Linked DNA regions of Homo sapiens: all the other regions are linked to region 4. Evidence: promoter capture Hi-C in 16 types of primary human blood cells and fetal thymus (Javierre and others, 2016). All regions are on one chromosome and are shown on one strand. The core of a region is centred on a gene start or on the middle of the fragment in contact, and the rest is flanking DNA. Distances in the headings are between cores, read along the strand shown.

Evidence for each region. The method cuts DNA at HindIII sites, captures the fragments that hold promoters and counts their contacts. A CHiCAGO score of 5 or more calls a contact.
Region 1: a contact is called between the fragment with the promoter of ZNF426 here and the fragment with the promoter of ZNF559 in region 4, in 17 of 17 cell types (fetal thymus, naive CD8 T cells, total CD4 T cells and 14 more). The highest score is 14.6, in fetal thymus.
Region 2: a fragment that was not itself captured here is called in contact with the fragment with the promoter of ZNF559 in region 4 in 5 of 17 cell types (activated CD4 T cells, naive CD8 T cells, naive CD4 T cells and 2 more); the score reaches 7.5 in activated CD4 T cells.
Region 3: a contact is called between a fragment that was not itself captured here and the fragment with the promoter of ZNF559 in region 4, in 1 of 17 cell types (fetal thymus). The highest score is 5.7, in fetal thymus.

The regions. Positions count from the first base shown.
Region 1 is chr19:9,537,041-9,543,125 of GRCh38, forward strand. It overlaps ZNF426 (zinc finger protein 426), which reads right to left and starts at 1,605. Exons shown (of 8, transcript NM_024106.3): 1 at 1,535-1,605; 2 at 1,219-1,305. It overlaps ZNF426-DT (ZNF426 divergent transcript), which reads left to right and starts at 1,626. Exons shown (of 2, transcript NR_134921.1): 1 at 1,626-1,958; 2 at 2,366-2,690. RefSeq lists enhancers at 911-1,646, 1,653-1,702, 1,903-1,972, 2,627-3,826. The HindIII fragment of the contact is 12,585 bases long and covers 1-3,969 here.
Region 2 is chr19:9,554,962-9,561,040 of GRCh38, forward strand. ZNF121 (zinc finger protein 121) reads right to left here. Exons shown (of 4, transcript NM_001008727.5): 4 at 5,368-6,079. Among named protein-coding and RNA genes, the nearest start is that of ZNF426-DT, 19 kb to the left of the region's middle. The HindIII fragment of the contact is 7,013 bases long and covers 1-5,486 here.
Region 3 is chr19:9,516,350-9,522,131 of GRCh38, forward strand. LOC105372268 (a long non-coding RNA gene) reads right to left here and starts at 4,491. Exons shown (of 3, transcript XR_001753862.2): 1 at 3,786-4,491. It also overlaps the pseudogene LOC100418883. The HindIII fragment of the contact is 5,045 bases long and covers 1-4,911 here.
Region 4 is chr19:9,321,834-9,327,767 of GRCh38, forward strand. ZNF559 (zinc finger protein 559) reads left to right here and starts at 2,346. Exons shown (of 7, transcript NM_032497.3): 1 at 2,346-2,395; 2 at 2,862-2,947. It overlaps ZNF559-ZNF177 (ZNF559-ZNF177 readthrough), which reads left to right and starts at 2,346. Exons shown (of 13, transcript NM_001384659.1): 1 at 2,346-2,395; 2 at 2,862-2,947. RefSeq lists an enhancer at 2,190-2,439 and a silencer at 2,610-2,749. The HindIII fragment of the contact is 3,488 bases long and covers 629-4,116 here.

The DNA of each region.
Region 1 (6,085 bases), core at 355-2,854, 210 kb after region 4:
AATCGCTTGATCCTGGGAAATGGAAGTTGCAGGGAGCTGAGATCACACCACTGCACTCCAGCCTAGGTGACAGAGCAAGACTCTGTCTCAAAAAAAAAATAATAATAATAATAATGACAATCATTAATTAATCAAACATGAAACAGTGGCTCAAACAATCACCTACAGAATGGGAGTCAAATGATGATAAACAGTGAAAGTTCCGCAGTTCATTATCCATGAACCAAATTCACAAAAACTCTATAGGCCTCCTTCTACCAATAAGACTAAAACCCTAAAGTCACAAAAACCACAGTTCTGGACTCCTGGTATAGATCACACCTACTCCCAGGGGTCTCAAACTAGGGGTCCTAGGGCTGACTAGGCCCACAAATATTCAGTTTGGTGGCATCTGTATAGAATATTTAACTCTTTTTTTTTTTTTTTTTTTGGAGAGATGGAGTCTTGCTATGTTGCCCAGGCTGGTCTTAAACTCCTGGGCTCAAGAGATCTTCCTGCCTCAGCCTCTCAAAGTGCTGGGATCACAGGTGTGAGCCACTGTACCCAGCCAGCTTTTTTTTTTTTTCATTGATATACAATCAATGTAGCTTAAAATGCACACATCCTTCGTTTCTCTTTTTTTTCTTTTGAGACGGAGGCTCACTCTGTCTCCCAGGCTGGAGTGCAGTGGCACGATCTCAGCTCACTGCAACGTCCGCCTCCTGGGTTCAAGTGATTCTCCTGCCTTAGTCTCCCAAATAGCTGAGATTCCAAGACCCCACCACCACGCTCGGCTAATTTTTTTTCTATTTTTAGTAGAGACGGGGTTTCACCATCTTAGCCAGGCTGGTTTCAAACTCCTTAATCCAACCATCCTGTTCATTGTAAATTTGATTATTGTGATACTAGAATAATAAAGCCTTCATCCTTTCCCTCTGGAGGTCTGATTAAGAAGCTCTCTTGGGATGTACAGGCCTAGGAACTCCATTCGAAGATAATGAATTATTATTCTTAGTATTCTTTAGCAGAAAGACTTGCGGTCTACAAACGTTTATATTCACATACACAAATACGCACACCCTATAAACCTAAAAAGCATCTTTATCTTTCGCCATGAAAGTAATGGTCAAAAATAAAACACAACACAATAAGACGAAACCAAACTTACAGATGAAACATTCGTTTGCATAAGAGAAGACAGAAAAGGCCCCCTAGAACCAACTTTCACCCAGTGCTCACCGGAACACTCAGAAATCGCCAGGTCCCTGAACCGGGAAGATCCTGGGGACGGAGCCAACGCGGATGCAAAAGGCAGCAATTATTTTCCTGCCGGAAAAAAATTCACAAACGCTGCTTTGGAGGCCTTTGGAGAGGGGCGCACAGATGAAAACACCCTGCGGACACCGTAACTATAAACCCGACTCCTCCCGAGGAGCGACGGTCCGAGCGGACGCTAGCGGGCCCAGCAGACACGAGCAGAGCGGGCCAGGCCTCTCTAACGTCCGGGCCAAACCCGTCCTTCACCCCAAAACCAGTTCATCTCCTCGGAACTCACCCAGGCCAGTGAGGCCTTAACTCTGAAAGGCAAAAAGACTCTCAGGCGCTCACAGCCGGCGTCACAAAAGGAACGGCGCACCGCTGACGTCATTTACGCTCTCCGCCTCGGGCCAGGCGGGGTTTCGGGACTAGGGTTTCTGCCGTGTAATACCTCCTCGAGGCAGAAAAATTCTACTTTCCATCTGCTTGGCTGCGGAGGACCTTGGGGTGGGCTCAGCGTGGGGGCTGCAGGCAGAAATGGGTCCAGAAGGCAAGGTCGAGGTTAGAGCCAAGCCTGTGGGCAGGGCTACGGGCAGGGGGCGGGGAGGAATGTGGGTCCAGGCCCAGAGGAAAAGGTTGAAGTTATAGCCAGGCCTGTGGGCGAGGCCGCAGCAGGGCGGCCATAGGGGAAGGAGCCAATGTGTTATGCATGTAGAAAATAGGTAACTACGTCTTTTGCTCTGTTACTATTTCAACATTTGATGTAAAAAACATTTTCTATGCAGCTAAAAGAATTGTTTTTAAAAATAATTTCTAGGTTTTCTGCCTTGCTTTAAAACATCTTTTCTTTTTTTTTGAGACAAAATCTCACTCTGTCACCAAGGCTGGAGTTCAGTGGAGCCATCTCAGCTCACTGCAACCTCCACCTCCCAGGTTCAAGCGATTCTCCTGCCTCATCCTCCCAAGTAGCTGGAATTACAGGTGCATGCTGCCACACCCTGCTAATTTTTGTATTTTTAGTAGAGGCAGGGTTTTGCCATGCTGGCCAGGCTGGTCTTGAACTACTTGTCAGGCCTCTGAGCCCAAGTTAAATCATCATAAACCCTGTCACCTGCACGTATACATCCAGATGGCCTGGAGCAACTGAAGAACCACAAAAGAAGTGAAACAGCCAGTTCCTGCCTTAACTGATGACGTTCCACCATTGTGATTTGTTGCTGCCCCACCCCAACTGATCTCTTGACCTTGTGACATTCTTCTTCTGGACGAGTCTCAGGAGTTCCCCACCGAGCACCTTGTGACCCCCGGCCCTGCCAGCAAAAGATAACCACCTTTAACTTTCCACTACCTACCCAAATCCTATAAAACTGCCCCACCCCTATCTCCCTTTGCTGACCCCTTTCTCGGACTCAGCCCACTTGCACCCAAGTGAATAAACAGCCTTGTTGCTAACACAAAGCCTATTGGTGGTCTCTTCACATGGATGTGTGTAACATTTGGTTCCGAAACCTGGGACAGGGGGACTCCCTTGGGAGACTGGCCCCGTCCTCACCCTCACTCCGTGAGGAGCTCCACCTACTACCTCGGGTCCTCAGACTAGCCCAAGGAACATCTCACCAATTTCAAATTGGGTAAGCAGTCTCTTCACTCTCTTCTCCAGCCTCTCTCACTACCCTTCCATCTCTCTGTCCTTCCAATTCCAGTTCTTTTTCCTCTCCAGTAGAGACAAAGGAGACACATTTTATCTGTGGACCCAAAACTCCAGCTCCAGTCACGGACTCAGGAAGACAGTCTTTCCTTGGTGGCTAATCACTGTAGGGATACCTGCCTGATTATTCACCTACATTCCATTGGTGTCTGATCACTGTGGGGATGCCTGCCTTGATCATTCACCCACATTCCCTTGGTGGCAAGTCAATTGCAGGGCTGCCTGCTTTGGCTGCTTACCCACATTACAGCCCAGGGCTGCTCACCCCCACCCCACTCCACTGCCTTCTCCATGTCTCTACCTTTCTCTTTAAACTTACCTCCTTCACTATGGGCAATCTTCTGCCCTCCATTCCCTGTTCTTCTCCCTTAGCCTGTGTTCTCAAGAACTTAAAACCTATTCAACTCACACCTGACCTAAAACCTAAATACCTTATTTTCTTCTGCAACACCACTTGGCCCCAGTACAAACTTGACAATGGTTCTAAATGGCCAGAAAATGGCACTTTTGATTTCTCCATCCTACAAGATCTAGATAATTTTTGTCATAAAATGGGCAAATGGTCTGAGATGCCTGACATCCAGGCATTCTTTACACATTGGTCCGTCCCTAGTCTTTGCTCCCAATGTGACTCATCCCAAATCTTTCTTGTTTCTTTCTTGTCCTTTGAATCCTCCTTTTCTATGGACCCATCTGACCTCTCCCCTCCCCCTCAGGCTGCTCCTCGCCAAGCTGAGCCAGGTCCTAACGTATCCAGAATTGGTGGGTTCTTGGTCTCACTGACTTCAAGAATGAAGCCGTGGACCCTCGCGGTGAGTGTTACAGTTCTTAAAGGCGGCGTGTCTGGAGTTTGTTCCTTCTGATGTTCGGATGTGTTCAGAGTTTCTTCCTTCTGGTGGGTTTGTGGTCTCGCTGGCTCAGGAGTGAAGCTACAGACCTTTGCGGTGAGTGTTACAGCTCTTAAAGGCAGCATGGACCCAAAGAGTAAGCAGTAGCAAGATTTATTGCAAAGAGCAAAAGAACAAAGCTTCCACAGCGTGGAAGGGGACCCAAGGGGGTTGCCACTGCTGGCTCAGTAGCCTGCTTTTATTCTCTTATCTGGCCCTACCCACATCCTGCTGATTGGTAGAGCCGAGTGGTCTGTTTTGACAGGGTGCTGATTGGTGTGTTTACAAACCTTGAGCTAGATACAGAGTGCCAATTGGTGTTTCCACAATCCCTGAGCTAGACATAAAGGTTCTCCACATCCCCACCAGACTCAGGAGCCCAGCTGGCTTCACCCAGTGGATCCCGCACTGGGGCTGCAGGTGGAGCTGCCTGCCAGTCCCGCGCCATGTGCCCGCACTCCTCAGCCCTTGGGTGGTTGATGGGACTGGGCACCATGGAGCAGGGGGGAGCTCTCATCAGGGAGGCTCGAGCTGCACAGGAGCCCATGGAGGGGGTGGGAGGCTCAGGCATGGCGGGCTGCCAGTCTTGAGCCCTGCCCTGTGGGAAGGCAGCTAAGGCCTGGCGAGAAATCAAGCGCAGCACCAGTGGGCTGGCACTGCTAGGGGACCCAGTACACCCTGTGCAGCTGCTGGCCTGGGTGCTAAGCCCCTCATTGCCTGGGGCCAGCAGGGCCGGCCAGCTGCTTCGAGTGCAGCCGCCAAGCCCACGCCCACCTGGAACTCCAGCTGGCCCGCAAGCACCATGCACAGCCCCAGTTCCCGCTCGCGCCTCTCCCTCCACACCTCCCTGCAAGCTGAGGGAGCTGGCTCCAGCCTTGGCCAGCCCAGAAAGGGGCTCCCACAGTGCAGCAGTGGGCTGAAGGGCTCCTCAAGTGCCGCCAAAGTGGAAGCTCAGGCAGAGGAGGCGCCAAGAGTGAGCGAGGGCTGTGAGGACTGCCAGCACGCTGTCACCTCTCACTAATTCTTCCTCAGCCTCTGCTCCCTACCCTGTGATCTTTCTATCACCTCCCCTTCTCACACCCGGTCCAGCTTACAGTTTCATTCCATGACTAGCCCTCCCCCACCTGCCCAACAATATCCTCTTAGAGAAGTGGCTGGAGCTGAAGGCATAGTCGAGGTTAATGCTCCTTTTTCTTCATCCAACCTCTCCCAAGTCAGTTAGCATTTAGGCTCTTTTTCATCAAGTATAAAAACCCGGCCCAGTTCATGGCCTGTTTGGCAACAACCCTTAGACAGTTTACCACCCTAGAACCAGAGAGGCCAGAAGGCCATCTTATTCTCAATATGCATTTTATTCTCAATATGCATTTTATTACCCAATCTGCTCCCAAGACTAGAAAAAGCTCCAAAAATTAGATTCTGACCCTCAACCCCCACAACAGGACTTAATTAACCTCACCTTGAAGGTGTACAATAATAGAGAAGAGGCAGCCAAGTGGCGTTGTATTTCTGAGTTGCAATTACTTGCCTCTGCTGTGAGATAAACCCCAGCCACATCTCCAGCACATAAGAACTTCAAAATGCCTAAACCACAGAGGCCAGGTGTTCCTCCAGGACCTCCTCCCTCAGGTTCTTGCTTTAAGTGCTGGAAATCTGGCCACTGGGCCAAGGAATGCCCGCAGCCCAGGATTCCTCCTAAGCCATGTCCCATCTGTGGGACCCCACTTGAAATCGGACTGTCCAACTCACCTGGCAGCCACTACCAGAGCCACTGGAACTCTGGCCCAAGGCTGTCTGACTGACTCCTTCCCAGATCTTCTCGGCTTAGCAGCTGAAGACTGACACTGCCCGATCACCTCGGGAGCCTCCTGGACTATCACAGATGCTTTGGGTAACTCTTACAGTGGAGGGCAAGTCTGTCCCCTTCTTAATCAATACAGAGGCTACCCACTCCACATTACCTTCTTTTCAAGGGCCTGTTTCCCTTGCCTTCATAACTGCCGTGGGTATTGATGGCCAGGCTTCTAAACCTCTTAAAAATCCCCAACTCTGGTGCCAACTTGAACAACTTTCTTTTATGCACTCTTTTTAGTTATCCCCACCTGCCCAGCTCCCTTATTAGGTCAAGACATTTTAACTAAATTCTCTGCTTCCCTCACTATTCCTGGGCTATAGCCACACCTCATTGCCACCCTTTTCCCCAGTTCAAAGCCTCCTTTGCCTCCTCCCCTTGTGTCTCACTACCTTAATCCAC
Region 2 (6,079 bases), core at 730-3,229, 230 kb after region 4:
GCCGAGGCGGGTGGATCACTTGGGTCAGGAGTTCGAGACCAGCCTGGCCAACATGGTGAAACTCTTTCTCTACTAAAAAACACAAAAATTAGCCAGGGGTGGTGGCACACACCTGTAGACCCAGCTACCAAGGAGGCTGAGGCAGAGAATCACTTGAACCCAGGAGACAGAGGTTGCAGAGAGCTGAGATTGCGCCACTGAACTCCAGCCTGGGTGACAGAGCAAGAATCCATCTCAAAAAATAAAATAAAAATAAAAATAACCTGGAAGTTGAACGTGATGAAAAGTGTGCTTGGATTTAGTTAGGAATATGTCCAAGGCTATGAGTGTAAAAATTTAGGTACATCAAGAAAAGCCGAGAGTACAGAATCAAGTTATACAGAGCAAATACATTGCTTTTCTAGGCCTTCATGATAAATATTTCAGTGTCAGGCCATAATAGCCGATTTAGAACCAAAGAAAAAACTTACAGGAGCAGACAAAAAAGTTGGAGACAGTCATCATCCCAGACCTTCTCAATGTGAAAAAAAGAAGGCAATGATGTATGACCTGCAAATGACATACACTGAGATGCAAGTAAAGTTGAGCCTCTGAGACATGAATGAGAAATCTGAAAAAACAAAACTCTACCTCAACAAATTGGCTGGTTTTGGTTTTGGTGGCTCGTTCCTGTAATCTCAGCACTTTGGAAGGATGAGGCAGGAGAGTAACTTAAGGCCAGGAGTTTGAGACCAGCCTGGGCAACATAGCTAGATGCCATCTTTATTAGTCTGTTCTCGCATTGTTATAAAGAAATAACTAACAGTGGGTAATTTATAAAGAAAAAAGGTTTAATTGGCTCACAGTTCTGCAGGCTGGACAGGATGTATGTTGCTGGCATCTGCTTGGCTTCTGGGGAGGCCTCAGGAAACTTACAATCATAGCAGAATGCAGAGGACCAGGCATGTCACATGGCCGAAGCAGGAGCAGGAGAGAGGGGGAGGTGCTACTCACCTTTAAACGACCAAATCGAGTGACAAGAACTCACTCACTATCTATCACGAGGACAGTACCGAGGCAGGTAGTGCTAAATCACTCATGAGAAATCCACCCCGCCATGATCAAGTCACCTCCCACCAGGAACAACCTGTAACATTGGGAATTACAGCTGAACATGAGATTTGGGTGGGGACACATATCCAAACCACATCATCATCTCTACAAATTTTTTTAACTGTATGAAATTCCACCTCAATAAATAAAATTACTGTTTTAAATGATGAGGACAGCATTTAAAACCTGAAAACTACAGAAATTAAATCGATCTCAGGAAAAAATGTGGCCGAAATAGAAACTAGAGTTTAGAAGATGGCTACTAACAGATTTTAGAACGAACAAACAAAACGTCTTGCAAATTTATTAAGTGCAGATAAATATGTCAAAAAAAAACACACCTTCTTGTTTTCAATATAGAGGACCAGATTCTGGTCCTGTATCAGTGCACCCAACACCACTGTTTAATTTTTAGGAAAAAAATATCCTATGTACAATTTCTTTTCAATCCTAGCCAACACAATCATACAATAAACTGTCGGTAAGGCTTATCTTTTATAAATCCTATTCAAATTGTTTAGACGTTTAATCATTTTCTTAAACCTTCAGTCTTAGACTTACAGTTTTCTCCTTTTATATTGGTACAACCAATCATTTTACCTTAGGACAAAAATTTACCACATAAGATTCTCACACAAAAATTACTTTTTCCTAAATTTGTATTTGGAGTAATAGACCAAAATATATCTACTCTTTTTAGAAATTTTAAGAAGCCAGCTGGGCACGGTGGCTCATGCCTGTAATCCCAGCACTTTGAGAGGTGAAGGCAGGTGAATCACCTGAGGTCAGCAATTCAAGACCAGCCTGGCCAACATGGTGAAACCCCATCTCTACTAATAATACAAAAATTAGCCTGTCATGGTTGTGGGCACCTGTAAACCCAGCTACTCGGGAGGCTGAGGCAGAATTGCTTGAACCTGGGAGGCAGAGGGTGCAATTAGCTGAGATTACACCATTGCACTCCAGCTGGGTGATGAGTGAAACTCCGTCTCAAAAAAAAAAGAAAGAAATTTTAAGAAGCCAAGAATGAATATATATTTTTTCAGTAATTTGTTTGCCTTATATCTTATTTGGATATGACCCAGATAATTAATATTATTTAAGATTTTAAATTACATGAAAAGTTTATTTATAAACATTTATTCCATTTACAGTTACCTTTAATTTCTAATTACACCTAGATTACTTATTAAGATTTGACACAGCTAGTCATTGTTTTAAATTATTTTTTATTAACCAATTTTATATCCTGTTAATATTGTTTACCAAAGTTCAAACCCTACACTAAATACATGGTTATTCTGTCAATAACTCAGAAGATATAGCTATTGTTATTAAATCAAAAATATTAAGTAAATCTCACTTATAAAAGAATTGCACAAAGATCATTGTTTTAGATTGGGTTTAGCTTCATGAACTTAAAGTATCTAATAGAGACAGACACAACACTGTCAGACCAGTAAACCCAGACAAAAATATATGCTGACAATTTTGAAGACATATCTAATTTTATCGACAACTTTAAAACCAATTAATTTATAAAAGAATTGTCATGTGAACTTAAAAAAAATTGTGTTCATTTTTTTATGAACACATTTTTTTTGATCTGCCCTCCTCGGCCTCCCAAAGTGCTGGGATTACAGGCAGGAGCCACCATGCCCAGCCTGATTTCTGTAGTTTTATAGTAACTTTTGACATCAGGAAGCATGAGTTGCTCTTTTTTAAAATTGTTTTTAATACTGGGGCTCCAGTTATGTGTGGGCTTTCATAACCTAATTTCAGAACTGGCTTACCAGAACTTCTGCCATATTCTGGTGGTTACACATATCAATCATAGTACAGTATGAGAGGATTACACAAGGGTAGTCCTCAAATACCAGGAAGCAGAAACTGGAGGCCAATTTGGAGGCTGCCTAGCACAGAGAATTTGTCAATGTCTAATATACTACCTATTTAATCCAGCAATCCTAATTCTAGGAATTTGTCCTGAATGTAAATGCCTAAATATACAAAAATACACATGCTCAAGAATACTAACTGCATCCCTGTTAGTAATTGCAAATTTGAATTCTCTAATTGATGACATGTAGTAGAGCAGCTGAATATTACATGGTACATCCACAAAAGGAGTATTATGCAGCTACAGAATGAAGGTGAAAAAGGAAGATATATCTATGAATTTATATGGAGTGGTTATCAAGATACACTGTTAGGCAAAAATAGAAACTGCAAGAGTATAGTATGAAACTTTTTTTTTTTGGAGACGGAGTCTCACTCTGTTGCCCAGGCTGGAGTGCAGTGGCGCCATCTCGGCTCACTGCAAGCTCTGCCTCCCGGGTTCATGCCATTCTCCTGCCTCAGCCTCCCGAGTAGCTGGGACTACAGGCGCCCACCACCACGCCTGGCAAATTTTTTGTAGTTTTAGTAGACAGGGGGTTTCATCGTGTTACCCAGGATGGTCTCGATCTCCTGACCTTGTGATCTACCCGCCTCAGCCTCCCAAAGTGCTGGGATTAGAGGCGTGAGCCACCGTACCTGCCTGAAATCTTTTTTTAAATGGGCAATAACAAATATATATATGTTCATTTTTGCTAGAAGAAAACACAGGATTATTCAGAGAAAAAGGTTCATTACCTATAGCTGATGGGATAGGAACAGGTTGTAAAGGACAGTGAGATTAGAACAGACTGGAAAGGATAAGGCAAGAAAAACGTTTATGTTTAGTTCTAATGTTTAAAGTATGCAATTAGGTGGGCGTTGTGGCTAATGCCTGTTACACCAGCACTTTAGGAGGCCAGGATGGGAGGATCCCTTAAGACCAGGAGTTTGAGGCCAGCCTGGGCAACATTGCCACATCCTGTCTCTACAAAAATTTAAAATTAGCCAGTCCTGGTGGTGCACGCTGGTAGTCCTACCTACTCAGGAGGCTGAGGGAGAAGGACTGCTTGATCTCAGAAGTGTGAGGCTGCAGGGAGCTATGACTGCACCACTGCACTCCAACCTGGGTGACAGAGCAACACCCTGTCTCAAAAAAAAATAAGGGTAAAAAATTTAAAAACTGCCTGCACCTGGTGGTGCATGCCTGTACTCCCAGCCTCTTGAGACACTAAAGTGGGAGGAGTGCTTGAGCTCAGGAGCATAAGGCTGCAGTGAGGTACAATCATGCCACTGCTCTCCAGTCTAGGTGACACAGCAAGATCCTGACTCAAAAAAAAAAAAAAAGATAAACCAGTATAAAATAAAACATACTATTGTTTCACATATTAATTTTTTTGGGACAGTCTCACTCTCTAACAGGCTGGAGTACAGTGGCACAATCTCAGCTCACTGCAACCTCCACCCCCAAGGTTCAAGCGATTCTTCTGCCTCAGCCTCCCAAGTAGCTGGTATTACAGGTGGGTGTCATGACGCCTAATTTTTTTCTTTGAGACAGTCACGCTCTGTCACTTAGGCTGGAGTGCAGTGGTGCAATCTTGACTCACTGCAACCTCTGCCTCTGGGGTTCAAGCAATTCTCCTGCATCAGCCTCCCCAGTAACTGGAACTACAGGCACCCACCACCACGGCCGGCTAATTTTTCTATTTTTAGTGGACACGGGGTTTCCCTATGTTGGCCAGGCTGATCTTGAACTCCTGACCTCATGATCTGCCCACTTAGGCATGAGCCACCACACCCAGCCTTTTATTTATTTTTTTTGAGACAGAGTCTCACTCTGTCACCCATGCTGGAGTGCAGTGGCACGATCTCGGCTCACTGCAACCTCCGCCTCCCGGGTTCAAGTGATTCTCCTGCCTCATCCTCCTGAGTAGCTGGGACTATAGGCGCCTGCCACCATACCCAGCTAATTTTTGTATTTTTAGTAGAGATGGGGTTTCACCATATTGGCCAGGCTGGTCTTGAACTCCTGACCTTGTGATCTGCCTGCCTCGGCCTCCCAAAGTGCTGGGATAACAGGCATGAGCCACGGCACCCAGCCGCCTGGCTAATTTTTGTATTTACGGTAGAGACAGGGTTTCACCATGTTGGCCAGGCTGGTCTCCAACTCCCAGTCTCAGGTGATCCGCCCACCTCGGCTTCCCAAAGTACTGGGATTACAGGCATAAGCCACCATGCCTGGCCTGTTTTACATATCTAATTTAAAAAAAAATCGACAAGGATAACGGTGTGACACAAAATGGAAAATTAACAGGAATTACTGAAATGAACTTTGTATCAAATGGATAAAAATTCAACAATGAAGAGGGGGGTAAAAAGCACAAAATTGACCCAAGTAACTTCTTTTATTACAATTTTTATTGTGATAAAAACACATAAAATTTACCCTTTCACATACTTTGTGTGTACCGAAGAGTATTGTTAACTATAGGCATATTTTTATACAACAAATCTCAAAAAGCTTTTCCATCTTGCGTGGCTGACACTCAATACCCATTGAACAACTCATTTTCTCCTCCACCAGCTTGTGGCAAATACCGCAGTACTTTGTTCTTCTGAGTTTGACGTTAGATACCCCATATAAGTGGAAATGGGTGTATTTGTCCTTTCGGAACTGGTTTATTTCACTTAGCATAACGTCCATGTTGTAGCATATGGCAGAATTTTGTTTTTAAGGCTAAATGATATTGCATTGTATGTATATAATGCATTTTGTTTACCAATTCATCTGTCAATGGACATTTACTTTGCTTCCACCTCTTGGCTCTTCTGAATAATGCTGCAATGAACACAGGTAGGCATTCACACATTGAGATGCTTTCTTCAGTTCCTTTGGACATGTACCTAGAAGTGGATTGCTGCTGACCAAGTAAGTTTTAAACCTAGTGCTTTTATATTACGCCCTGAGCTAAAGATAAGAACTGTGAATAAAAACTGAATTCTGGTTAGTTGATTTTTAAAAAGAGTGGTATGAGTTATCAATTCTGAGAGTAGCTTATATTTTAATCTAGGATTGAGCACGTGCTATTTTTGCAAGTGATGAAAGATAGCT
Region 3 (5,782 bases), core at 1,139-3,638, 190 kb after region 4:
GAGGCTGGGAGTTTGAGACCAGCCTGACCAACATGGAGAAACCCCATCTTTACTAAAAATAAAAAATTAGCCTGGCATGGTATCTCATGCCTGTAATTCCAGCTACTTGGGAGGCTGAGGCAGTAGAATTGCTCAAAGCTGGGAGGTGGAGGTTGTGGTGAGCCGAGATTGCACTATTGCACTCCACCCTAGGCAACAAGAGTGAGACTCCATCTCAAAAAAAAAAAAAGGGAGGGGAGTAGGGGAGAATGAATATTGAGAAGACAACTAGCTATTATTTGACCTGCGAGGTCAGAGAGAATTTTCTTATAAATAAGAATAAAGAGGCCAGGAGTGGTGGCTCACGCCTATAATCCCAGCACTTTGGGAGGACGAGGCAGGTGGATCACGAGGTCAAGAGATCAAGACCATCCTGACCAACATGGTGAAATCCCATCTCTACTAAAAATTAGCTGGGTGTGGTGATGCACGCCTGTAGTAATAGCTGTAGTTCCAGCTACTCAGGAGGCTGAGTCAGGAGAATCGCTTGAACCCAGGAGGTGGAGGTTGCAGTAAGCCAAGATTGCACCACTGCACTCCAGCCTGGTGACAGAGCAAGATTCCACCTCAAAAATAAATAAATAAAAGAATAAGGAAGCTGAGCGCGATGGTTCATGCCTGTAATCCCAGCACTTTGGGAGGCTGAAGTAGGTGGATCACCTGAGTTCAGGAGTTCCAGACATGCCTGTCACCCCAATATGGTGAAACCCCGTCTCTACTAAAAATACAAAAAATTAGACAGGCATGGTGGCACGTGCCTGTAATCCCAGCTACTCAGGAAGCTGAGGCAGGAGAATCACTTGAACCTGGGAGGCAGAGGTTGCAGTGAGCTGAGATCATGCCATTACACTCCAGCCTCGACAACAAGACTAAAACTCTGTCTCAAAAAATATATATAAATAAAAATAAAGGGCCAGGCGCAGTGGCTCACACCTGTAATTCCAGAACTTTGGGAGGCCAAGGTGGGCAGATCACGAGATCAGGAGATCGAGACCATCCTGACCAACATGGTGAAACACCATCTCTGCTAAAAATACAAAAATTAGCCAGGCGTGGTGGTAGGCATCTGTAGTCCCAGCTACTCGGGAGGCTGAGGCAGGAGAATTGCTTGAACCCAGGAGGCAGAGGCTGCAGTGAGCTGAGATCGCGCCACTGCACTCCAGCCTGGACAACAGAGCAAGCCTCAGTCTTAAAATAAAATAAAATAAAATAAAGGCCAGGTGCAGTTGCTTATGCCTGTAATCCCAGCACTTTAGGAGGCCAAGGCAGGAGGCTCTCTTGAGGCCAGTGGTTCTCGACCAGCCTGTGCAACATAGTGAGACCCCCATCTCTATTTTTTTTTTTTTTTGAGACAGAGGCTCGCTCTGTCGCTCAGGCTGGAGTGCAGTGGAGCGATATTGGCTCACTGCTAGCTCTGCCTCCCAGTTTCACACTATTCTCCTGCCTCAGCCTCCTGAGTAGCTGGGACTACAGGCACCCCACAACGCCTGGCTAATTTTTTTGTATTTTTTTAGTAAAGACAGGGTTTCAGTGTGTTAGCAAGATGGTCTCGATCTCCTGACCTCGTGATCTGCCTGCCTCCGCCTCCCAAAGTGCTGGGATTACAGGAGTGAGCCACTGTGGCCGGCCCCCCATCATCTCTATTTTTTTTTATTTTTTTTTTAAAGAAGAAATGCGACCGCTGAGACTGCATCTATCCCGCGAGCACAAAGCCTTGCCCTGGCCACTCTGCCGCCTATACACGCCCGCTGTCAGCTCACCATGGATGATGATATTGAGGTGCTTGTAGTTAACAATGGCTCCGGCATGTGCAAGGTCAACTTCGTGGGCGACAATGCCCCCCGGGCCATCTTCCCCTCCATCGTGGGGCATCTGAAGCACCAGGGCGTTATGGTGGGCATCGGTCAGAAGGACTCCTACGTGGGTGAAGATGCCCAGAGCAAGAGAGGCAACCTGACCCTGAAATACCCCATCGAGCAGAGCATTGTCACCAACTGGGATGACATTGAGAAGATCTGGCACCACACCTTTTTTTTTTTTTTTTTTTTTTTGAGACGGAGTCTCGCTCTGTTGCTCAGGCTGGAGGGCAGTGGCGCAATCTCGGCTCACTGCATGCTCCACCTCCCGGGCTTATGCCATTCTCCTGCCTCAGCCTCCTGAGTAGCTGGGACTACAGGCACCCGCCACCACACCCGACTCATTTTTTGTATTTTTAGTAGAGATGGGGATTCACTGTCTTAGCCAGGATGGTCTCGATCTCCTCACCTAGTGATCCACCCACCTCGGCCTCCCAAAGTGCTGGGATTACAGGCATGAGCCTCTGTGCTCAGCCTGGCACGACACCTTCTACAATGAGCTGCATGTTTCTCCCAAGGAGCACCCGGTGCTGCTGACCGAGGCCCCCTTGAACCCCAAGGCCAGCCATGAGAAGATGACCCAGATCATGTCTGAGACCTTCAACTCCCCATCCATGTATATAGCCATCCAGGCTCTGCTGTCCCTGCACGTGGCCTCCAGCTTCTCCCTGAAGAAGAGATTCCAGCTGCCTGACAGCCAGGTCATCACCATCAGCAACGAGCGGTCCCCGCTGTCCCATGGCACTTTTCCAGCCTTCCTTCCTGGACATGGAATCCTGTGGCATCCATGAAACTACCCTCAACTCCATCATGAAATGTGACATTGACATCTGCAAAGACCTGGATGCCAACCCAGTGCTGTCCAGTGACACCACCATGTACGCTGGTATTGCTGACAGGATGGAGGAGGAGATCACCACCATGGCTCCCAGCATGAAGAAGATCAACATCATTGCTCCTCCTGAGCACAAATATTCTGTATGGATCAGTGGCTCCATCTTGGTCTCGCTGTCCCCCTTCCAGCAGATGTGGATCAGCAAGCAGGAATACGAGGAGTCCGGCCTCAGTATTGTCCACCCTACCACAAATACTTCTAGGCGGACGGTGACTTACATTATAACCTTTCTTGACAAAAACCTAATTTATGCAGAAAATAAGATTGGTTTTTTTTTTTTTTTTTTTTGGCTTAAGATTTAAAACCTGGAATGGTGAAGGTGACAGCAGTTAGTTGGAGCGAAGAATCCCAAACGTTCTACAATGTGGCTGAGGACTTTGATTATACATTGTTCTTTTTTTAAATAGTCATTCCAAATATCGGGAGGTGCATTCTCTTTTTTGTTTTTTTGAGACAGAGTCTCACTCAGTCGCCCAGACTGGAGTGCAGTGGTGCAAATTGGCACAGTGCAACCTCCGCCTCCCAGGTTCAAGCGATTCTTCTGCCTCAGCCTCCCAAGTAGCTGGGATTACAGGTGCACCATCACACCCAGCTAATTTTTGTATTTTTAGTAGAGATGGGGTTTAACCATATTGGCAAGGATGGTCTCGAACTCCTGACCTCATGATCCACCTGCCTCAGCCTCCCGTGCTGGCATTACAGGCGTGAGCCACCTCGCCCGGCTGGGAGGTGCATTCTTACTGGAAGTCCCTTGCCCTCCCAAAAGCCACCCCATTTCTAAGGAGAATGCCCAGTCCTCTCCCAAGTTCACATGGGGTGGTGATAGCATTGCTTTTGTGTAAATTATATAAAATTTTTTAAATCTTTGCCTTTGTATTTTTAATTTTGAATGATCAGCCATCATGTCCCCCCATTTTTGTCCCCCAACTTGAGATGTATAAAGGCTGTTGGTCTCCCTAGGGGTGGGTGGAGGAATGGAGGCAGCCAGGGCTTACCTGTACACTGACTTGACAGCAGTTGAATGAAAGTGCACACCTTAAAAAAAAAAAAAGGAAAGAAAAGAAATTCCATGTAGACCCATGGTATGACCAATTATCAATGACACTAGAGAGGACTATCTAAAAGCATCTATTAATAATCCCTCATGACAGCCAGGTGAGGTGGCAGAGGTTGCAGTGAGCAGAGGTTGCACCCCTGGACTCCAGCCTGAGTGACAGAGGGAGACTCCATCTCAAAGCAAAACCAAAAAATCCCCAAGTTTTGCAGAATCTGGATTTTATGGAAAAAAAAAGAAAAAACAAAAACAAAAAAACTTATCTTGGCAGTTAAACACACGCTCACTGTTAAATGAACATATAATGCAAATGAGAAAGTGTTTACAACTGCAGTCATGAAGAAAGTGCTAATTTATAAAATGTGCATAACAGAACAAGTAATATATTCAGAAACTCTTTCAAAAACAAATTTAATCACATAAAACCACCACAGAAAACTAAGGGGCCACACGTCTTATCTGAGAATAGGACAAACAGAAAGACAATTTCATCTTCATGTCATTTATTTGAATGTATCCCCAAAATGAATTATCTTATTTGCAACAAGAGTGATACAGAAAGGCTTCCAGAGCTGGGCAGGGTGGGTCATGCCTGTAATCCCAGCACTTTGGGAGGCTGAGGTGGGTGGATCACCTGAGGTTGGGAGTTCGAGACCAGCCTGACCAACATGGAGAAACCCCGCCTCTACTAAAAATACAAAAAAATTAGCCGGGCGTGGTGGCGCATGCCTGTAATCCTACTCAGGAGGCTGAGGCAGGAGAATCGCTTGAACCTGGGAGGTGGAGGTTGCGGTGAGCCAAGATCCCACCATTGCACTCCAAGGCTGGATGCCTGGAGAAACCCAGTGGACACATTCAGCTTTCAGCTTATTCCAATCATGACTGAAGAGGCCCAGCCAGAAAATAAGGGTCCCCTTGAGCCAGCAGCTTAGCTTCAGGTGGAGAAATGCATGATAAAATTATGATAAAGTTTTTCCAAAAGATGTAGCTGCCAATAGGTAAAGCCACAAGGCTGCTAATGTCAGGCTGCTGCACTCATTCCGTTTCCATTTCTATGTGACCAGCGAAGCTTACTGGGACATTCCCTTGCTGGTCACTGAATTCTTTGGAGATGTCAAGCATTCAGTTTCAGAAAGAGATTAGTACTACGTCCCTATCTGATCTTTTTTTTTTTTTTAAGAGGCAGAGTCTTGCTATGTTGCCCCAGGCTGGTTGTGAACTCCTGGGTTCAGGTGATCCTCCTGTCTTGGCCTCCCAAAGTGCGGAGATTACAGGCATGAGCCACTAGGCCCAGCCCCTACCTCACCTTCTTCTTTTTTTTTTTTTTTTTTTTTGAGATGGAGCTTCGCTCGTCGCCCAGGCTGGAGTGCAGTGGCGCAATCTTGGCTCACTGCAACCTCCACCTCCTGGGTTTAAACAACTTTCCTGCCTCAGTGTCCTGAGTAGCTGGGATTACACATCCCCACCATCATGCCTGGCTAATTTTTCTATTTTTAGTAGAGATGGGGTTTTGCCATGTTGGCCAGGCTGGTCTTCAATTCCTGTCTTGGCCTCCCAAGTAGCTGGGATTACTGGCATGCACCACAACACCTGGCTAATTTTGTATTTTTAGTAGAGATGGGGTTTCACCATATTGACCAGGCTGGACTTGAGCTCCTGACCTCCAGTGATCCACCCGCCTTGGCCTCCCAAAGTGCTGGGATTAGAGGTGTGAGCCACCATGCCAGGCCCCCTACCTGACCTTTTAAAGAAGGGACATGCTTGGTGGCTCCGTCAGGCAGATATTATGGCGTGTGAAATATCTAAGGGTTGTATCCCACTTTTCCCCTTCCCATGGCTTCACAGCAATTTACAATGCACAAAAGAAGCCTTATGAATGAACAAAGGTGATTCCACTTGATTTACAAGCAGGTTTCTCTCCACTGAGTTTCTACACCT
Region 4 (5,934 bases), core at 1,096-3,595:
CCTACCCCCCGCTCCTTCCCCCTCCTACCCCCTCCTCCCCCGCCTCCTCCTCCGTGGGCTCCTGTGCAGCCGGAGCCTCCCCGACAAGTGCCGCCCCCTGCTCCACGGCACCCAATCCCGTCGACCACCCAAGGGCTGAGGAGTGCGGGCGCATGGCGCGGGACTGGCAGGCAGCTCCACCTGCAGCCCCAGTGCAAGATCCACTGGGTGAAGCCAGCTGGGCTCCTGAGTCTAGTGGGAACTTGGAGAACCTTTATGTCTAGCTAAAGTATTGTAAATACACCAATTGGCACTCTGTATCTAGCTCAAGGTTTGTAAACACACCAATCAGCACCCTGTGTCTAGCTCAGGGTTTGTGAATGCACCAATCAACACTCTGTATCTAGCTACTCTGGTGGGGACTTGGAGAACCTTTGTGTCGACACTCTGTAGCTAGCTAATCTAGTGGGGATGTGGAGAACCTTTGTGTCTAGCTCAGGGATTGTAAAGGCACCAATCAGCGCCCTGTCAAAACAGACCACTTGACTCTACCAGTCAGCAGGATGTGGGTGGGGCCACATAAGAGAATAAAAGCAGGCTGCCCCAGCCAGCAGTGGTAACCCGCTTTGATCCCCTTCCACGCCGTGGAAGCTTTGTTGTTTCACTCTTTGCAATAACTCTTGCTACTGCTCACTCTTTGGGTCCACACTGCTTTTATGAGCTGTAACACTCACCGCGAAGGTCTGCAGCTTCACTCCTGAAGCCAGCGAGACCACGAGCCCACCGGGAGAAATGAACAACTCCAGACGCGCCGCTTTAAGAGCTCTAACACTCACCGCGAAGGTCTGCAGCTTCACTCCTGAGCCAGCAAGACCACGAACCCACCAGAAGGAAGAAACTCCGAGCACATCCGAACATCAGAAGGAACAAACTCCAGACGTGCCACCTTAAGATCTGTAACACTCACCACGAGGGTCCCCGGCTTCATTCTTGGAGTCGGTGAGACCAAGAACCCACCAATTCCGGACACATTAGTACAGGTCTTTGAATAAATTTTGCTTCTAACAGAAGTTACTATTTATTCCTAATTAGATGGGCAGGAAAGTCTTTGAAGAGGAACCTCTACTTTACTTTTTACTGTAGAGAGAGTAGTCTTTGATCTTGGGGAGATGGGGTTTTTCCTTTTGGTTTAGCTTCAGGAAGTTTGTGTTAATTGGCCTTAGGTGCCCTGCCCCCAGCCCCAGGTGTTTTTCCTTTGATTTAACTTTAGGAAATTATCACGAATTGGCCTTAGATTCCCCGACCCCAGATCTTGGTGTTTTCACTTTTAGGAAGTCCGCATGAATCTTATCTATGCTCTTAACTACGTCCTAATTTTTGTGTTTTTTGTCTTTTTTATAGGAATAGGGTTTTGCCATATTGCCCAGGCTGGTCTCGAACTCCTGAGCTCAAGTGGTCTGCCTGCCTCAGCCTCCCAAAGTGCTGGGATCACTGGCGTGAGCCATCAGGCCCAGCCTCTATGTGCTAATTTTTGAACAAATTCCAATAGGAGCATTCTAGTCTCTGAGTGTGAGATGACCAAAAATCAAGCCCTTGTGAGGCTGAATAGAGTCGGGAGGCAGGGAACTTAAGGCTGTTTCAGGCCGACTTCCTAGAACTAAATTGAAAGGAAAACCCTCACTTTCCTCGCCTAAATAACAAAAGGACCAGAGGCTACTCCCTTTGACCTTTTCTGCTGGCAGATAGGAAATTGGCTGTCTGCAACAAATCAGACTGATGGCCGGTTGAGTCTTCATTTGCATAGAAGTGTAACTTTGTAACGTCGTAACTTCACCCTAGCCTTTGATTGGTTGCTTTTTGCAACCAATCAGATGTTTGCACAGGAGTGTGACCTTTGTAACTTCAGACTCTGGTTGGCTGCTTTCTGCAACCAATCAGACTGAACGCGGGCTACCGCTTCATTTACAGGAGGTGAGCATGAAGTGGCCAATGGGAAAATTCTAGGAGGTATTGGGACTCATGAAGGTTCTGTTTCGGAGCCCTTGAGCTGCCGCTTGGCCAGTTCCCACACTGTGGAGTATGCTTTCGTTTTCAACAAATCCCAGCTCTTGTTCTTTTGTTGCTTCATTCTTTCTTTGCTTTGCTGGGCGTTTTGTCTAATTCTTTGTTCAAAACGCCAGTAACCTGGACAGCTTGCAGTCAAGACCCCCTACCGGTGACACTTGCGCTCTTCGGGGAGGTAAACAGCATTTCCTCTCAGCTCTGGGTTGGAAAAAGCCGCAGCAGCTGATGGGCCCGGGAACCCGAGGCCCCGCCCCCTAGGTGGTCCTAGCCTTTGCGCGTGCGCGGCGTGTCTGCGTGGGCGCATGCGCATAACGGCCGCCATCTTAACAGCGCGTTCCCGTTGGCGTCTGAGGTAAGTTTTTGTTTCTGGGCGGCGTTCGGTGGTGTCCCGGTGCAGCCACGCGAGAGTAGAAGGGTGGAAAGGGGAGGTGCCCAGTGAAATGGAGCCTGTCCCGTGCACTTTCGGGCATTTCGAGCATCTTGTGGGCTCTCCCAAGTCGCGGCCCCTCCTCTGAGAGCCACAGTCAGGTCTGTCCTCAGGGGTCGAGGCGGCTGCGCTGGGGCCTCGGCCCGGGAGGAGGCGGGGGGCACGGCCTTTCCATTTTCCCTGCTCCCCTCTGCAGAAGCCTCATAGGGCCCGGCGCGGCGGCTCACGCCTGTCATTCCCAGCGCTTTGGGCGGATTGGGTAGGAGGATTACTTGAGGCCAGGAGTTCAAGACCAGGCAGGGCAACATAGGGAGACCCCCCCCCCCAACCATCTCTAATGGAAAAAAAAAAAAAAGTCTCCACATCCAGCGTTGTGCCTTTTCTCTATAAGGAACAGCATCTCTGCCTTCCTGTTCACGGTGACCTTCGCTTGGTGTCCTCCTGGCCTCAGCAACCTGACAATTCTGTCGTGTCCCGGTGAGCACTTCATGCACTTGTTCTGGCTGTGGGTGTCGGGTCTTGAAGTTTAAGTTGTGTCGAGGTGGAAAGAAACCTTTTCAGGTGGTTGTTCGAGAGCACATGGATCTGATACCATCGAATGCATGAGTGGATGAATGCACATAACTGTAAAATTTACCACCAAGGAAAAACACAGGACTACTCAACTGTGGTTCCAGGCCATCACCTAGATCTCACTCTAGCGCCCTGTAGATTCCCCCAGAGGTTCAAAACGAGGGCATCCCCAGGAACACGGTGCGGGCTGATTTACTAGCAGGAGGGATTGAATTGATAATGAATGCGAAGATAACTTTTGACAGGTGGGTTTTCTACCAGTTACTCATTTGAAAGTCTTACTGAGGGCGGGGCAAGGTGGCTCACACCTGTAATCCCAGCGTTTTGGGAGGCTGAGGCTGGAGGATCGCTTGAGCCCAGGAATTTGATGCCAACCTGGAAAAAATAGGGCAAGCCTCTGTCTCTACTAAAAATAAAAAATTAGCTGGGCATGGTGGTGTCTGTGGTCCCATCCACTTTGGAGGCCGAGATGCGAGGATCACTTGAGCATGGGAGGTCGAGGCTGCTGTGAGCCATTATTGTGTCACTGCATTCCAGCTTAGGCAACAGAGTGAGACCCTGTTTCAAAAAGAAGAAAAAAAAACAAATACTGATCTAGAGAACATCTGTAGCTCGAGTAAAACAAATGTCTTTAGTCCAGGTGTGGTGGCTCACGCCTGTAATCCCAGCATGTTGGGAGGCTGAGGCTGGCGGATCACGAGGTCAGGAGTTTGAGACCAGCCTGGCCAACATAGTGAAACCCCGTCTTTACTCAAAATACAAAAAATTAGCCGGGCGTGGGCACCTGTAATCCCAGCTACTCAGGAGCCTGAGGCAGGAGAATCGCTTGAACCTGGGAGGCAGAGGTTGCAGTGAGCCAAGATTGCACCCTTGCATTCCAGCCTGGGCAACAGTGCGAGACTCCGTCTCCAAAAAAAAAAAAAAAAGTCTTTAACCCTTAACTACATTCACTAGTTGTTAAGATTTGTTTCATTTTTTTGTATATGTACTTTATCATGAGCCATTTAAATTGGAAGTGAATGAACTTTCCCCTTTTAAGCGTGTATCTCAAATACCTCCTGAAAGTGAAGACAAGCTTAAAACAAGACTTCATTGTCCATCCCCACCCCCAAATCAAATCAGATTTCCCCAGCTGTCCAAAAGTCACCATAGTCACCATTATAGTTGCCAGGTTGTTTGCATGTTTTTAGATCTGTTAAATCTGTTTTTTAACTAGACTATTCACCTGATTTTTTTTTTTTTTTTTTTTTTTTTTGAGACGGAGTCTGTCTGTCCCAGGCTGGAGTGCAGTGGTGTGATCTCAGCTCACTGCAACCTCTGCCTCCTGCGTTCAAGCGATTCTCCTGACTCAGCCTCCCAAGTAGCTGGAATTACAGGCGTGTGCCACCACGCCCGGCTAATTGTATTTTTAGTAGAGACAGGGTTTCACCGTGTTGGCCAGGCTGGTCTCGAACTCCTGACCTCGTGATCTGCCGGCCTTGGCCTCCCAAAGTACTGCGTGAACCACCATGCCCCGCCATTCACCTGAATTTTTAAAAATAAAATTTTGGCCTTTGAAGATTTCAGGAGCATTATCTTGTAAAATGCTGCCGTTCTCATGCAATGATGTTTTCCTGTGATTTTATTTGATTTACCTATGTCCTGTATTTCTTGTAAAGTGGATGTTGGGGTTACAGTGGTACTGTCTAATACAAATATAATGCAAGGCACAGATGTAATTTTTAAAAATTTTAGTAGCCAAATTAGAAAATGTTAAATGTATGTGTGATATCATTTTTAATATATTAAAAATGCAGCATATCCAGTTATCAATATAAGTTTTTGAAATTAGTGACTAATGTAGTCAGTTTAAAACTGAGACATTTCACACTTCTTTTGTACTAAGTCTTTGGAATCCTGCACGTATTTTACACTTACAGCTAATTTTCATTGGAAATTCTTGATCTGTATTTAGAGTTTATAAAATTAACTATTGAAAAAGTAGATTAACAAACCCAGGTTGTTCCAAACATACTTAAAAGTTTTTCAATAACAATTTTATTTTTAAAGTTGAATTAAAAGTAAATAAAATTAAGAATTCATTTCCTCAGTTGCACTAGCCACATGGGGCTAGTGGCTGTTGAGTTAGACTGGCCAGATCCAAGGCTTCCATTTTCTAGGTAATGTACTGGGCTTCATATTATATCCTATCAGTAGTCACATACTACAAGTTTGTTAGTGATACTACGCATTTGGTCAAGGTACTCATCTCTGTATAGTCATGTTTTTCTTATAGTAATCTATAAGTGATACTTTGGCTACAGGGGAATATTCTGTTCCCCAACAGCCTTTCACCCAGTGGTTTTTTTGGTTTTGTTTTGTTTTGTTTTTTTTTGTTTTTGTTTTTGTTTTGACGGAGTCTCACTCTGCCGCCCAGGCTGGAGTACAGTGGCGTGATCTTGGCTCACTGCAACCTCCGCCTCCCCGGTTCAAGTGATTCTCCTGTCTCAGCCTTCTGGGTAGCTGGGATTAGAGATGTGGGTCACCACGCCTGGCTAATTTTTGTAATTTTAGTAGAGAAGGGGTTTCACCCATGTTGGTCAGGCTGGTCTCGAACTCTTGACCTCAGGTGATCCTCCCGCCTCGGCCTCCCAAAGTGCTGGAATTACAGGCATGAGCTACCGCGCCTGGCCTCACCCAGTGGCTTTTAACATCACTCAGTCATCTTCTCCTGAACCTGTTTTTACATTGAGAGGTTAACAGTTTTTTTTCCTAGTTCTGTTGTTCTTTCTCCATTCTTTAGCTGACAGTCTTAGGTGAAGAGGAGCTTTCTTTCACCACTTTCACTGCCCTCTATACTTTTTTTCTTTTTTGGAATGTCACAACTTATTCTAATTTTTTTTTCTTTTCAT